Regions from separate parts of the Homo sapiens genome. Here regions 2 and 3 are each linked to region 1. Evidence: promoter capture Hi-C in human tissues and cell types (Jung and others, 2019). All regions are on one chromosome and are shown on one strand. Each heading gives the region's core, a stretch centred on a gene start or on the middle of the fragment in contact. The rest is flanking DNA. Distances are from core to core; before and after follow the strand shown. Region 1 holds the start of ACTN2 (actinin alpha 2). Region 2 has its middle 37 kb from the start of HEATR1. Region 3 overlaps ACTN2 (actinin alpha 2).

What was found. The method cuts DNA at HindIII sites, captures the fragments that hold promoters and counts their contacts. A contact is called where the count stands out against the background at its distance.
Region 2: a fragment that was not itself captured here is called in contact with the fragment with the promoter of ACTN2 in region 1 in 1 of the 25 tissues and cell types used here (psoas muscle).
Region 3: a contact is called between a fragment that was not itself captured here and the fragment with the promoter of ACTN2 in region 1, in 1 of the 25 tissues and cell types used here (pancreas).

Annotation. Positions count from the first base shown.
Region 1 is chr1:236,684,987-236,689,173 of GRCh38, reverse strand. ACTN2 (actinin alpha 2) reads right to left here and starts at 2,675. Exons shown (of 21, transcript NM_001103.4): 1 at 2,375-2,675. The coding sequence starts at 2,500. RefSeq lists an enhancer at 1-1,091 and a silencer at 2,730-2,819. The HindIII fragment of the contact is 16,282 bases long and covers 1-4,187 here.
Region 2 is chr1:236,639,237-236,643,815 of GRCh38, reverse strand. No RefSeq gene overlaps it. Among named protein-coding and RNA genes, the nearest start is that of HEATR1, 37 kb to the right of the region's middle. RefSeq lists an enhancer at 3,728-4,285. The HindIII fragment of the contact is 7,227 bases long and covers 1-4,579 here.
Region 3 is chr1:236,738,019-236,742,724 of GRCh38, reverse strand. It overlaps ACTN2 (actinin alpha 2), which reads right to left. Exons shown (of 21, transcript NM_001103.4): 10 at 3,193-3,423. Among named protein-coding and RNA genes, the nearest start is that of ACTN2, 54 kb to the right of the region's middle. The HindIII fragment of the contact is 4,886 bases long and covers 396-4,706 here.

The DNA.
Region 1 (4,187 bases), core at 1,426-3,925:
ACACACTCTTGAAAGAGAAGGTAGACACGTTGAAACGCCTATTCGCACTCATGCTAAACCCACTATCTTCTGCATTCCCTTCTCTTATAAAACTCATTACACTTTTATAAAGTCCTTCTACAGCAAGGCTTTCCTTCCACACCACAGAGCAAGGATTACCATAGCCCATGAGACTCTCTGAACTGTAGATATAATTAGGCATCACATCCATTATAACGCCACGGACGTCATCATGTGCTACCAGCATCTGTTGACAGATCTCATACCCAGCATATCACTGAAATGGCAAGTGTGGAGAAGGCAGCCCACAATAGAAACAATGGTATTTTACCCTTGTCCGGTTCCAGCAGTTTGTCTCATGGGACATAAATAGAGGCCACTGCTCTGGCCACACTGAGCTCACAGTTCAATATTATTTTACTGACTTGAGCAGGGTCTATACCAAAAGTAGAAATAGAGAATCTTCTAGATCTCTCCTAATGTAGTTTTTGCCCCCCAAGCATGTACAACATTCAAACTATCTTAAAAAAAATTCTCACCTTAAACTTTCTAACATTATTTTGGACTGGGATCAGGAAGTATGTTATTTTTAAATAATCAACTTTACTTCAAGTGCTATGCAATTATAATAATACAGTCAACATAGGAATCCCAAACCTAAAAGAATTCGAAGCCATATATCCAAAAATACTGCAAATAAGTTAAAAGATTAAATATGGCAGAAGGGATGTCAATGTGGCCTCTGGAAACTGTCATTACCTCTATCCTGCTACTGTACTGTACTTAAAAAAAAAAAAGGCAACAGAAAGCACTGTGATTAGACCATCACTTTCAAAAATGATGGGCAGACTACCTGTCCAATTCCTTAGCTATTTTACAATTCCTCATAAGAAAGCAATTTTTAAAACAAAGACCCGGGAGTTATCTTTTTTTTTAATCCATGAAAAGTGCAGTAATCAAAATTTGGGGAAATTCTTTTAAAAAAAAACACTCACTGCTAAAAATTAAAGTCACTTTTTAACTTCGTGCTGATGGATGATGCATCAGCTGGTCCAGATGACACATTAGTAATCCTCATGCCTCGTACTTCCTTCACAATCAGTCCTTTAAACAATAGTAGACGGCTTGAAGTTTTGTTTTTTTCTATTTATTACTCCCATTTTCTAAGAAAGGTAGGGATGGTAAAAGCCTTAAGAAACTCGGGGAGAGACTGAAATGTAGCTAAATTAGAGCTTTAAAATAATAATAGTAAATGGTATTTTAGGAGAGAGGGTAGACAAGAGACATCCTGATATAAAAATAGTGCTTGGTTATTTGATAATCATCTCTCCTTCCAGCTAACGCTGTTTGCTGCGAGAGGAGTTTGGGATGTGTGTTCTCCACCATCATACCCCTATTCACCAAATACTATCGCACAATCAGCTACAGTACCCATTATACAGAGATTCCCATACACACTATGGTCACCACAGGCTATCCACCTAAAGCAGGTCCTTAGAAGGGAAATCTATCTTGCCCCACGCCCAGAAAAATAGGCGGAAAAAAGTTCAGAGCGTTTGGCTTTTGCCATAACCCCGTTATCTTAAGGTTGGGTTGGCAGGTCTCTGTTGTCATGTCTGACCCAACCAGGCTCCCTGCCTAGTCAAGTAAGAGGCGGGATTAAGCCTCCTGGTGAGCATTCCCTATTTATTCCAGCCAAGAGGATCAAGAGGAAACCTTGAAAAAGTGGAATGTTCCACTGGGCCCCCAGAGAACGCCAATCAAAATGGGGAGGGAGCTTTTAGAAGCTGGCTGACTCCTTCGTCCCTGTGTGCTTACCTCAATGAATTATAAATAGAGTGTGAAATAATTGTCACTATCGGTAAATGTCTAGTGTTCATACAACATCCCTCTCCAAGGAACCCAAAAGATTGAATAAATGACTTTCCATGACTCTAGGGGCAGCCCGGTGGAAATTGCAATGAAGCTGATGTTCTTTTGCTTCTTTCAATGGGGAAGAGAGAGGCTGGGGTAAATGGACACAAGCGGGCCAGGAGAGTATAACTCGGGGGCCAAGGTCACAGACTCAAGGGGTCAGGAGCAGACCAGAGACCCCTTCAGATCTGGTCTAACGCGGGTTGGTGTGAGGAACAGAACCACATCTGTACCTCCGATGCTGCTAGCGCGCGCGCACACACACGACGCCCAGTGTCCTGCCTGTCCCCGGACGTGTCCTCTTTCCTAAGGGGCCCCCGGGGCTGCGAGGGCACAGGACAGCACAGCACCTCCACAAAGCGCCCTCTCGCCAGTCGCCAGGCCACGCGGCCACGCGCACGGGAGCCCCGCGGGGGACCCGGCCCCACCACGCGCGGGCGGCCCGCGGGCCCCTGCTGACCTTCCTCTGCTGCTTCTCCCAGGCTGGGTCCAGGAGCAGGTCGCGGTCCCACTCCTCCTCCTGGATCATGTACTCATCCTCGTCGTACACGTAGTTGTACTGCACGCCGGGCTCTATCTGGTTCATGGCGCTCGGTTGGCCGGGGCTGCGGCGGGGCGCGAGGGGCTCGGACGCACGGGCTGACTGGCAAACGGACCCACGGAGGCGGCGGGCGGCGGGCGGCGGGCGCGGGGTGACCTTCGCGCGGCTCCTCTCGGGGCGACACGCCTGGGCGCTGGGTCTCGGGCGAAGCACCAGCTCCGGCTGCGAGCAGCTGCCGCGCGGCTTAATAGCCGCGCCGCCCGTCACGTGGCCGCCCGGCCACGCCCCCGCCGCCACCGCCCCCGGCCCCGCCCGTCGGGCCCCAGCCGCCCCGCCCCGAGCACGTGCGGGCGGACAAGGGCGCCGGGCCCCTCCACTGTCTCCCCTGCAGCCGCCGCCCAGAGGCCGCCTGCACGCCTTCCGCCGAGGCCTCCGGGAACGTGAGGGGAGCGGCCGGCCCCGAGCAGAGCCACGCCTGCCACCCACGCTCTGAGAGCGGCTGGTTAGCGGCGCGGGGTCCGTCGGTGTCCCGGGTGGGTGATCGCGAGCCAGGGGAGGGACACCTAAGAGGCTGGGTCCCTGACCACCCCAACACAGCCAAGTTTTCCAAATATCATTTGGATATTCGCGTTTTCCATATATTCCCACATATTCATTGGAGACCCCTCTTCTCTCTCTCTCATCTCTCTCTCGTGCCTCTCTTTCCGCTCATCGGTCCCTCTCTCTTGTGTCTGTCTCTCGTCTGTCTCTCTCTCATCTCTGTCCCTCTTTCTCCAGTGTCTCTCTCTCATAGATCTCTCTCATATCTCTCTCTCATCTCTGTCTCTCCTGTGTCTCTCTCACATGTCTCTCTCTCCTCTCATCTCTCTCTCTCTCTCGTGTCTCACTGTCTCTCATCTGTCTCTCGTGTCTCTCTCCTCTCCTCTTCTCTCCTCTGTCTCTCTCTCCCGTGTCTCTCTCTCTCTCGTCTCTCTCTCTCTGTCGTGTCTCTCTTTCTCTCTCTCATCTGTCTCTCTCTCCTGTGTCTCTCATACCTCTCTCATCTCTGTCTCTCTCTTCTCTCTCTCTGTTTCTCTTCCTCCCTCTCACACACACACACACATACATACATACAGGCCCCTAAGGAGTAAAGTTTAAAAGCTACAGAACCCCCCTCTTCTTTCTCTCCTCCTCACCCTCACCTGGGGAAATCAAGGCACAGGATTTGGATCCATCCTATTAAAATGTTAGGAACCAAACCAAAGGCAGGAAGTGTCAGCTCTCACCTACCGGGCATAAATTTAAGAGAGCTGACAATGAAGGGCAAGCGGCCAGCTTCGTGTTATATTTCCATGTCGCCCTGTGGGTTGCACTTAACGCCTTTTCATCCCCCTAGTGCTGGCTAGCTGTTCCCTATCAGTTATGCTGCCGCAGGAAGCAAAATGAGGACCCTTGGGACAAGTAGGCTGAAATTTTTAAATCAAATATGTATTAAGCAACTACTGTAAACCAGAGGTTGCCTTAGGCACCAGACGAGCTGATGGGATGCCTGCCTGCAATTCAGTTTATATCTCAATTGAATAAACGTTGCCCACAGATGCTACAGAATTTTTTGTGATTCAGGGCTACTAATTTGTGGACATGTTTCAAGTTGAGTTTGTCTGGATTTATCATTGTTCCTTAGAATTTTTACATCACTCACCGTTACTGTTTGGGGCTTTATGCAGAAAGATAACAATTAGCAAACAGGTTG
Region 2 (4,579 bases), core at 1,876-4,375, 46 kb after region 1:
GCATCCTGGCTCCATAGCTTCGTAGATAGCTGTCTCCATGAGCCATGTTTCTAGATGCTAAACACAGAAAATTGAACTAGACTAGCTTACACGAATGGGGTTTATTTTTCCGATGTGACAAAAAGAGCATGGAGGCTGCACCCTGGCTCTGTCTAAGCCAGTTTTCGCATTCCACCATCCCAAAGGCCGTGTGCTTGGCCCCTCCCAGTTGCAGCATGGCTGCCTCAGCTCCAGGCATTTAAGGCAAGAGAGAGGGGAAGTGCCAGCATGTTCTTTTCTCCCACCTGTAGCTTTTGGGAGAAAGCAAAATCTTTCTCAGAAACTGCCAGGCACGGTGGCTCACGCCTGTAATCCCAGCACTTCGGGAGTCTGAGGCGGGTGGATCACCTGAGGTCAGGAGTTCGAGACCAGCCTGGCCAACATGGCGAAACCCCCGTCTCTACTAAAAATACAAAAATTAGCCAGGCACACCTAGTAATTCTAGCTACTTGGGAGGCTGAGGCAGGACAATCGCTTGAACCCAGGAGGCGGAGGTTGCAGTGAGCTGAAATCGTGCCACTGCACTCCAGCCTGGGCAACAGACCGAGACTCCATCTCAAACAAACAAAAAGAAAAACAAAAGAAAAGAATCCCCATCCACTTCTCTTTACATCTCCTTGGTGAGGACGGAGACACTTGGCCACTGCAGACTGCAAAGTAGGCCAGGAAAATAAATATTTGTTAATTTATTTTGTTTTCCCCAGGTTCTTTGGTGGGAGGCAGGCAAAGAAAAAGGGGTTTGGGAATGGCTGCTGGGTTCTATGGCTTCCCTCTAGGGGTGCCAAGGCACAGGTTACTGCACAGAAATAGTGACCCCTCCGGGCCACTGAGTGGAGCCTCTGGCTGGTAGCTCCCGGCCTCCAGCCTATCTTCTGTTTACCTCGATCTGCCTCAGACATTCACTATAGCAGCTATGCTCAGAATTTGTTCTTGGGACTCCTCTATACTCTTAAAAGTTGCAGAACCATAAAGAACTTTTATTTTTTCTTAATTTACTATTTATTTATTTATTTTTGAGACAGAGTTTCACTCTTGTTGCCCAGGCTGGAGTGCAATGGTGTGATCTCGGCTCACTGCAACCTCTGTGTCCTGGGTTCAAGTGATTCTCGTGCCTCAACCTCCTGAGTAGCTGGGATTACAGGCGCCCACCACCGTGCCCGGCTAATTTTTTTTTTTTTTTTTTGAGATGGAGTACCACTCTGTCTGGTATGCAGTGGCACGATCTCGGCTCACTGCAACCTCCACCTCCAGGGTTCAAGCGATTCTCCTGCCTCAGCCTCCCAAGCAGCTGGGACTATGGGAGCCCACCACCAAGCCCAGTTAATTTTTGTGTTTTTAGTAGAGATGGGGTTTCACCATGTTGGCCAGGCTGGTCTCGAACCCCTGACCTCAGGTGATCTGCCCGCCTTGGCCTCCCAAAGTGCTGGGATTACAGGCATGAGCCACGGCACCCAGCTATAAAAGGTTTTTTTTTTTAATGTGCATTATATCTATCAATGTTTACCATATTAGAAATTAAAACTGGGGCATTTAAAAATTAGTATACTAATTTGAAATGAACAACAAACGCATGACATGTGAACATACATTTCACATAAAGAATGCATTTTTATGAAACATAACTCTATTTTCCAAAGAAATTAATGGTACCATAGCATTGTTTTACATTTTTGCACATCTCTTTATTGTCCGTCTTAATGGAAGAAACCTGGATTCTCCTGTCTGCTCCTGCAATCTGTTTTATTACTGAATGTCATGTAGCATGAGGAACACTTAACTGTAGACTCATGGCAGGATGAGGGGGCAAAGGCAAATAGTGTCTTAGTATTATTATAAAAGTGGTTCTGACCTTGGAAACCACCTAAAAGGCCTCAGGACCACTTTGAGACCTCCTATAGTACAGATATGACCATTTGTTGGGAAGCCATCCAAGAATGTCTGCCACACAGGTCCCCATTTCCCATTTTGGGATTTCCCTTTTAATTTCTTTTTTTTTTTTTTTTTTTTTTTTTGAGACGGAGTCTTGCTCTGTCACCCAGGCTGGAGTGCAGTGGTGCCATCTTGGCTCACTGCAACCTCCGCCTCCCAGGTTCAAGCGATTCTCCTGCCTCAGCCTCCCGAGCAGCTGGGACTACAGGCATACACCACCACACCCGGCTAATTTTGTATTTTTAGTAGATACGGGGTTTCACCATATTGGCCATGCTGGTCTCGAACTCCTGACCTTGTGATCCACCCGCCTCGGCCTCCCAAAGTGCTGGGATTACAGGCGTGAGCCACCGCACCCAGCCTTAATTTCATAACTAAATGTCCAATTCAAGAGTTAGTTTCAGAACTAGGAAAGTGTCTTCCCCACAGTTATGCATGTGCAATTCTTTATGGCTTACCAAACAAAAAATTACCAGCAATTTTTAAAACACCAGCTTGTTTTTGGTTTCCTTATACACATTTTTTTTTTTTGAAGACAGAGTCTTGCTCTTTTGCCCAGGCTGGAGTGCAGTGGCGTGATCACGGCTCGTTGCAGCCTTGACTTCCCTGGCTGAAGCTATCCTCCTACCTCAACCTCCTGAATATCTGGGACTACAGGTGTGTGCCACCACATCCAGCTAATTTTATTTTATTTTATTTTTTGTAGAGACAGGTTCTCACTATGTTGCTCAAGCTGGTCTTGAGATCCCGAGCTCAAGCGATCCTCCTGCCTCAGCCTCCCAAAGTGCTAGGATTACAGGTATGAGCCACCACACCCAGCCCTTATACACATTTTGGTTTCAAAGGTCAAAGGGTCTTTTCAGTCATGGCTCAAACAAATGACATCTGTGCTTTCCCACTTTTGCAAAAAGGAAGCCTCCCTCCCAAGCTCATAACATGAAAGCAGGGGATTGTGTGGAAGGACGCATCTACTTCCATCTTCAGCCTTCATTGCCATACTTCATTGCTGTTTGTCTGTGCAGCCATCCCTGTTCTTCAGGGATTTGATTCGATTTGATTTGATTTTGAGACAGAGTCTTGCTCTGTCGCCTAGGCTGAAGTGCAATGACCCAATCTAGGCTCACTGCAACCTCCGCCTTCCGGGTTCAAGCAATTCTCCTACCTCAGCCTCCCAAACTGCTGGGATTACAGGCACCCACCACCACACCTGGCCAATTTTTTGTATTTTGAGGAAAGACAGGGTTTTCTCATGTTGGCCAGGCTGGTCTCGAACTCCTGACCTCAGGTGATCCACCCGCCTTGGCTCCCAAACTGCTGCGATTACAGGCATGACCTACCATACCCAGCCTCTTCAGGGACTGTAGAAGACACGACTGATGACATCCAAATTCCCACTCTAAATCTCCCGCAGCTCCAAGGATCAAACTTAAGACTCTCCGTCAACTGTTGTCAACATTTAATTATACCCACCTCATCCTCATTAGACTCTTCTGTCTCTTTAGCTGCCCCCTGATAGCTGTGAGAAAGCTCACAGGGCAACATCAAGGAGGGCAGCCGAGGACTTCTGACATCTCCTCTGTGTGATCTTCCCTGAGTGCTCCCTTTTGGAAATGTCAGGAGCACTGCGGGCAAATTGCAGAAAAAGCTGGAGGGGCCTCCGTCAGCATCCCAGCTCTGTGCCAGCGACTCTCTGATGAGACATTGGGATTTGGAGGTGGGATACAGAATCACTCGGGGACTTTTTTTGAACTCCACATGCTGGTTCCTTCCCCAAACTCCTTGGAGATAGATCTCTCCTCACCCCCACCCTGGTTAAAAATCACTGATCTCAATGGTTAGGAAAGAGCTTTATTAAATTTAAATTTAGCATGTGAGGTTGTGGATAACCCTCTCTCTGTTTCTGAGAAACAACTGTTTACTATTCTAACACTCTAGAAACCTGGCAACCGACTCACAGAGGACTGGCAAATGCCAGCTAATGTGCAGCTGCTCTGCGAGGGACCCCGGCTCTAAGCACTCCTACCCGTCAGCCTGGTGCCTATGTTAGAAGGGGTACAAGACCTAGAACTTTTGCAGGACCAAAAAAAGGCAGTCAGGACCTATTTTTAATGATCCTGAGGATTATATAGAAAGGAAATTCCATTAAGTCCATGCAGCTCTTAAAAAGTATTTTGTTCCACTCTTTTCTTCCCCTGCCCTTCTGATTCTATTTCTGTATTTCCCTCTTTATGTTTATGGGTCTGGAACTGAATAGCAGTGAAATAAAGATGATTGTCCTAAAGTGATGTTCCTAGGTAGAAAAATGGGTTTCTAAAATCCCTGCTTCCACTGCTGGGATGGCAGTCTGGATAAAATTGCAGGGGGATTTGTGGGATCATTGAAGCTCTTGATATTCAGAGCGGGGATTTTTATTCTATTATCACTTACTCTCAGGAAAATGTGATGTGCGTTATAGTGACATGGGTATTATGGCCAAATTTGTCAGTGAACACGGAGAAACTGCCTTGTTCACATCTGTCTGAAACATTTACTGCAGGCAAAGCCCTCTGCTTGGATCCTCTTATTCTGAACCGCACACACAGCGCGTGATGCTTGCTTTTGGAGTGGGGTC
Region 3 (4,706 bases), core at 1,589-4,088, 53 kb before region 1:
CAAATGTCTTAATTACAATTCACTGGGATCTTTTAAGACTAACATAGTTGTTATCAGCGATCCTGACACTTCTCCAGATGTGGACAAAGATGTAGAGGGCTGACAATTTCTGGCTACAAGAAGATAAAGCCTCAAGATGACTCAGTTCAAAACAACCCTTTTATTATGATTATTGTTTTGTTTTTTTTTAAAGAAATGGAGTCTCGCTATGTTGCTGTTCTCTAACTCTTGGGCTCTGGCAATCCTCCCACCTCGGCCTCCCCTGTAGCCGGGATTACAGGCATGTGCCACCACACCTGGCTTCCAAAACAACTCTTATTCAGTGACTGGGGTGAATTGTTCAGCCAGCCAGCCATCAACAACTAATTACTGGGCATCTAGCATGTACCAGGCACTAGTGAGAAACTCTGTAAGGGTAAACAACACCTCTAAAGTTCCCATGCAGCTTCCATGGTGGTTGGGGGAGAGAGACAGTCATTAAGTACTTAAGCAAGTTCATTTCGGAAAGCGATAAACAAAATGCCGTATGGGAAAAAAAAAGCAGGGTCAAGGGATACTGCCAGCCCTGCCCGTCAGGGTGGTCCCTGTGGCAGGTTACTTACAGAAGACCCCTCCGAGGAGGGGGCATTTGAGCTGAGTCCTCAATGACAGAAAAAGACAGTGATGTGAGGAAGTAGGAAACGAGGGCTCCTGGGCAAGGGGAAAAAACTCGAACGCCCAAGAGGGGATGTGCTGTGCGTGCGGGAAGGACGGCAGGCAGGGGGTGTGGCAGCGGTGGAGTGCCTCAGGGCAGAGGGAGAGATGCGTTTGGCAAGCATGCAGGCCCTTATAGGCCAGGATAATGAAAATGGATTTTACTCTCAATACTTTGGGGAGTCACTGGAGGGTTTTGAGAAGAAAGGAGATGAGATCTGATTCACATTTTTAAAAGACGACAGAGGCTGATGTAGGCGGGATGAATTTTAAGGGGCAAAAGAAAAAGAAGAACCGGTCAGCAGTTACTTGCAGGGTCCAAGGAGAGAGAATGGTGGCTTAGGATAGGCCAGTGGCCGTGGAGGTAAAGAGAAGGGGATTAAGAGCATTTACTTACGATGTATTCTGGAAGAAGAGCCAATGGGACTGGCTGAAGAACTGGATGTAAGAAAGTGACAGAAAGGGAAGAATCAAGGATGAAACCTGGGTTTGGGGGTTGGCAACTTAGAGGACAGTGATAGAATTTACTAGGATCGAGGAAACCGGGAGGAACTCTTTTGGATATGTTCAGTTTAATATGCTATAATATATCCAGGTGGATATACTGGCCTGGAATTTGGGGAAAAGTCAGAGCTGGAAATGTAAAATTTGAGAGGTATTGGCATTTAGGTGGCAATTAAAACCATGGGCCCGCCCAGGCATGCTCGCTCATGCCTATAATCCCAGCACTTTGGGAGGCTGAGGTGGGAGGATCGCTTGAGCCCAGGAGTTTGGGCCGCCCCTGGCAACACAGCAAGACCCCATCTCTGCAAAGAAATAATTAGCCAGGCATGGTGGGATGTGCGTGTAGTCCCAGCTACTCAGGATGTTGAGGTGGGAGGATCACTTGAGCCCAGGAGATTAAGGCTGCAGTGAGCTGTGATTGTGCCACTGCACTCCAATCTGGGTGACAGAGCATGACCATGTTTTTAAAAAAAAGGAAAAAGAAAAAACAAGCCATGGGCCTGGATGAGATCACCTGGAGGGTATAAAGATGAAGAGGGCTCAGCACCAAGCCTGAGAATCACCAACATCTACAGGTAGAGGGAGGAGGCAAGGCCTTGAACAGAGATGGAGAAGGCCTCGCTGGTGAAGGAGGAAGAAACAGGAGGGCCAAAGTAGGAAGAACTTCAAGAATGGGGAAATGGGCAGCTGGGCCAAAAAAACTGAGAATGTAAAAATAAAAATGATCCCAGCACTTTGGGAGGCCGAGGTGGGTGGATCACAAGGTCAGGAGTTCGAGACCAGCCTGGCCAATATGGTGAAACCCCACCTCTACTAAAATTACAAAAATTAGCTGGCCGTGGTGGCGGGCACCAGTAATCCCAGCTACCTGGGAAGCTGAGGCAGGAGAATTGCTTGAACTCGGGAGGCAGAGGTTGCAGTGAGCCGAGATCGTGCCACTGCACTCCAGCCTGGGCAACAAAGTGAGACTCTGTCTCAAAAATAAAAATAAAAATAAAAATGACTTGCTCTGACAACATGAATGCCATTGACTTTGGCAAGAACATTCTTGGTGGAAGCAGGGACAGAAGCCAGTTTACTGCAAGTTGAAGGGTAAGAGAAGTGAGTGAGTTGGGGCTGGGCGTGGTGGCTCACGCCTGTCATCCCAGCACTTTGGGAGGCCGAGGCGGGCGGATCACCTGAGGTCAGGAGTTCAAGACCAGCCTGACCAACATGGTGAAACCCCTTCTCTACTAAAAATACAAAAATTAGCCGGGCGTGGTGGCGGGCACCTGTAATCCCAGCTACTCAGGAGGCTGAGGCAGGAGAATTGCTTGAACCCGGGAGGCGGAGCTTGCAGTGAGCTGAGATCACGCCACTGCACTGCAGCCTGGGTGACAGAGTGAGACTCCGTCTCCAAAAAAAAAAAGTGAGTGAGTGAGTGGGGAGGGAGCGGAAATAGGTACCACAAAGAACTCCTTCTAGATGTTTTGCTGTGAAGGGGAGCCAAGAAGTTGCTCGTGGGAGATGTGGAGTCCTTGGTTTTAGCTTGTGACTGGCAGATTTGACAGCACTTTTGTATGCTGGTGTGCATGATTCGGTGGAGAGGGAGAAAGTGACAATGTGGAAGAGAGGGAGATAAATGGAGGACTCAGACTTTGCGAAGGTGAGATGGGTAGCTTGTAACAGCAGGGAACAGAAGACACATGATCTAGATGCTGGTGGACATGAGGGGCCAAGGCCATGAGGAGGGACGAGAGAAAGAGGCTGTTCATCGAGCGTTTCCTAAAGGTCTGCTCTTTGTGGGACACTGTACCCCAGTGGCAGCTGGATTCAAGAAGTACATGATGGTTGGGAGAAAAGTATTAAGAACAAAGTGGTTACAGGGCCAAAATGATATTCACACAACTAAAAAGATTCAAGAAGTCAATGCCTCCTCCTGACCCAGGTCAAACGCCTTTAGGCTAGAAGGAGGGCTTCCCGTGGCGCCAGGAGGGCTTGGCGCTTGCTACTCACCGACACCATCTTGCCCTCGGAGGGCATGAAGGCAGGACGGTTGCTGATCCGCAGCTTGGTCTGCAGCGTGTTGAAGTTGATCTCCAGCTGGCATTTCTCCTGCACCTTGGGTGGCTTGTGCTTCCGGCGGTAATCCCGGAAGTCCTCCAGCTTCTTCTGCATGGCTTGCATGGTCTTCTCGGGAGTCCGGTTCTCCAGCCAGGGGATCGTGCGACGAATCCATTCCAAAAGCTGCTCCGCAAACACAAAAATACTGCTGAAGACACCAGCAAGCCCCCTCCCCCAGTTAAAAAAAAAAAATGAGGCATCCAATAATTTGTAAAGGATGAATGTTCCTAAAATCACTGAGATGTGGTACCTCTACGCACAGAGGCATGAACGAGATGTTCAGTGTCCGCCCATGGCCGCGAGTGATCACCCCAACGATACCAAACACAGGTCGAAAACTTAAAGTGAGCACGTAAAGTCGTGTCTTACAAAAATGTGACGTTTACAAGAAACTCAGGGACCAGACATTAGCAGACAAATGCTGGATGGAGCTTTCAAATTAAAAAAACAAAAAACAAAACAAAACAACCCCAAAATACTTGACATGGCAGAACTGTAGTGTAATAAATTCAGCAAAGAACTGGATTTCACTTAAAATGTGTTTTTAAAAAATAAGCTCAAATCTAATTAGATTACTTACTACACAACTGTATTGTAAGCCTGGGCCTAACTCAATGCCAAAGTGTATTTTGACGTCTAGCTTTTAAGTAAATCTGCATGATAAAAGCGAACGTGGTAGTGAATCCCTAAGGACAAAATACACATGCACCTCTTGAATTACTACCTAGGTCTTAGAAATGACTTGCTGAAAACCCCATCATTTACACTTATGCCTACTGAGCACTTGGAAAATGACAGCAGATTCGAATGAAAAATAGTTTAAATGGTGATATACCTAGAGTCTAAGGGTTTTAGGAGGATAAATGAAGGACCCAGTAAGAAAAGGAAGAATTGAATTCCTAAGGATCCTCTGGCCTTCAGTACTGGCCATGCTTCATGTCTGGCAACCCTGTCACTGCCATTCAACAATGCCATCAAGCTTAATTTTTCTATAGCAGCAGTATGAAGATATGAACTCAGTATCATAAAGTTACACTACTATTTATTGGAACATTTATTCCAAATGTCCTGATACTTTTCCCAATAAAGACCAAATATCAGCTAAATTAAAAAGAAGGCCAGGTGCGGTGGCTCACGCCAATAATCCCGGCACTTTGGGAGGCCAAGGCGGGTGGATCACCTGAGGTCAGGAGTTCAAGGCCAGCCAGGCTACCACGGTGAAACTCCATCTCTACTAAAAATACAAAATTAGCTGGGTGTGGTGGTGCACGCCTGTAATCCCAGCTACTTGGGAGGCTGAGGCAGGACAATTGCTTGAACCCTGGGGGCGGAGGTTGCAGTGCGCCAGGACTGCCCCACTGCACTCCAGCCTGGGCCAGAGAGCAAGACTCTGTCATAGAAAACAA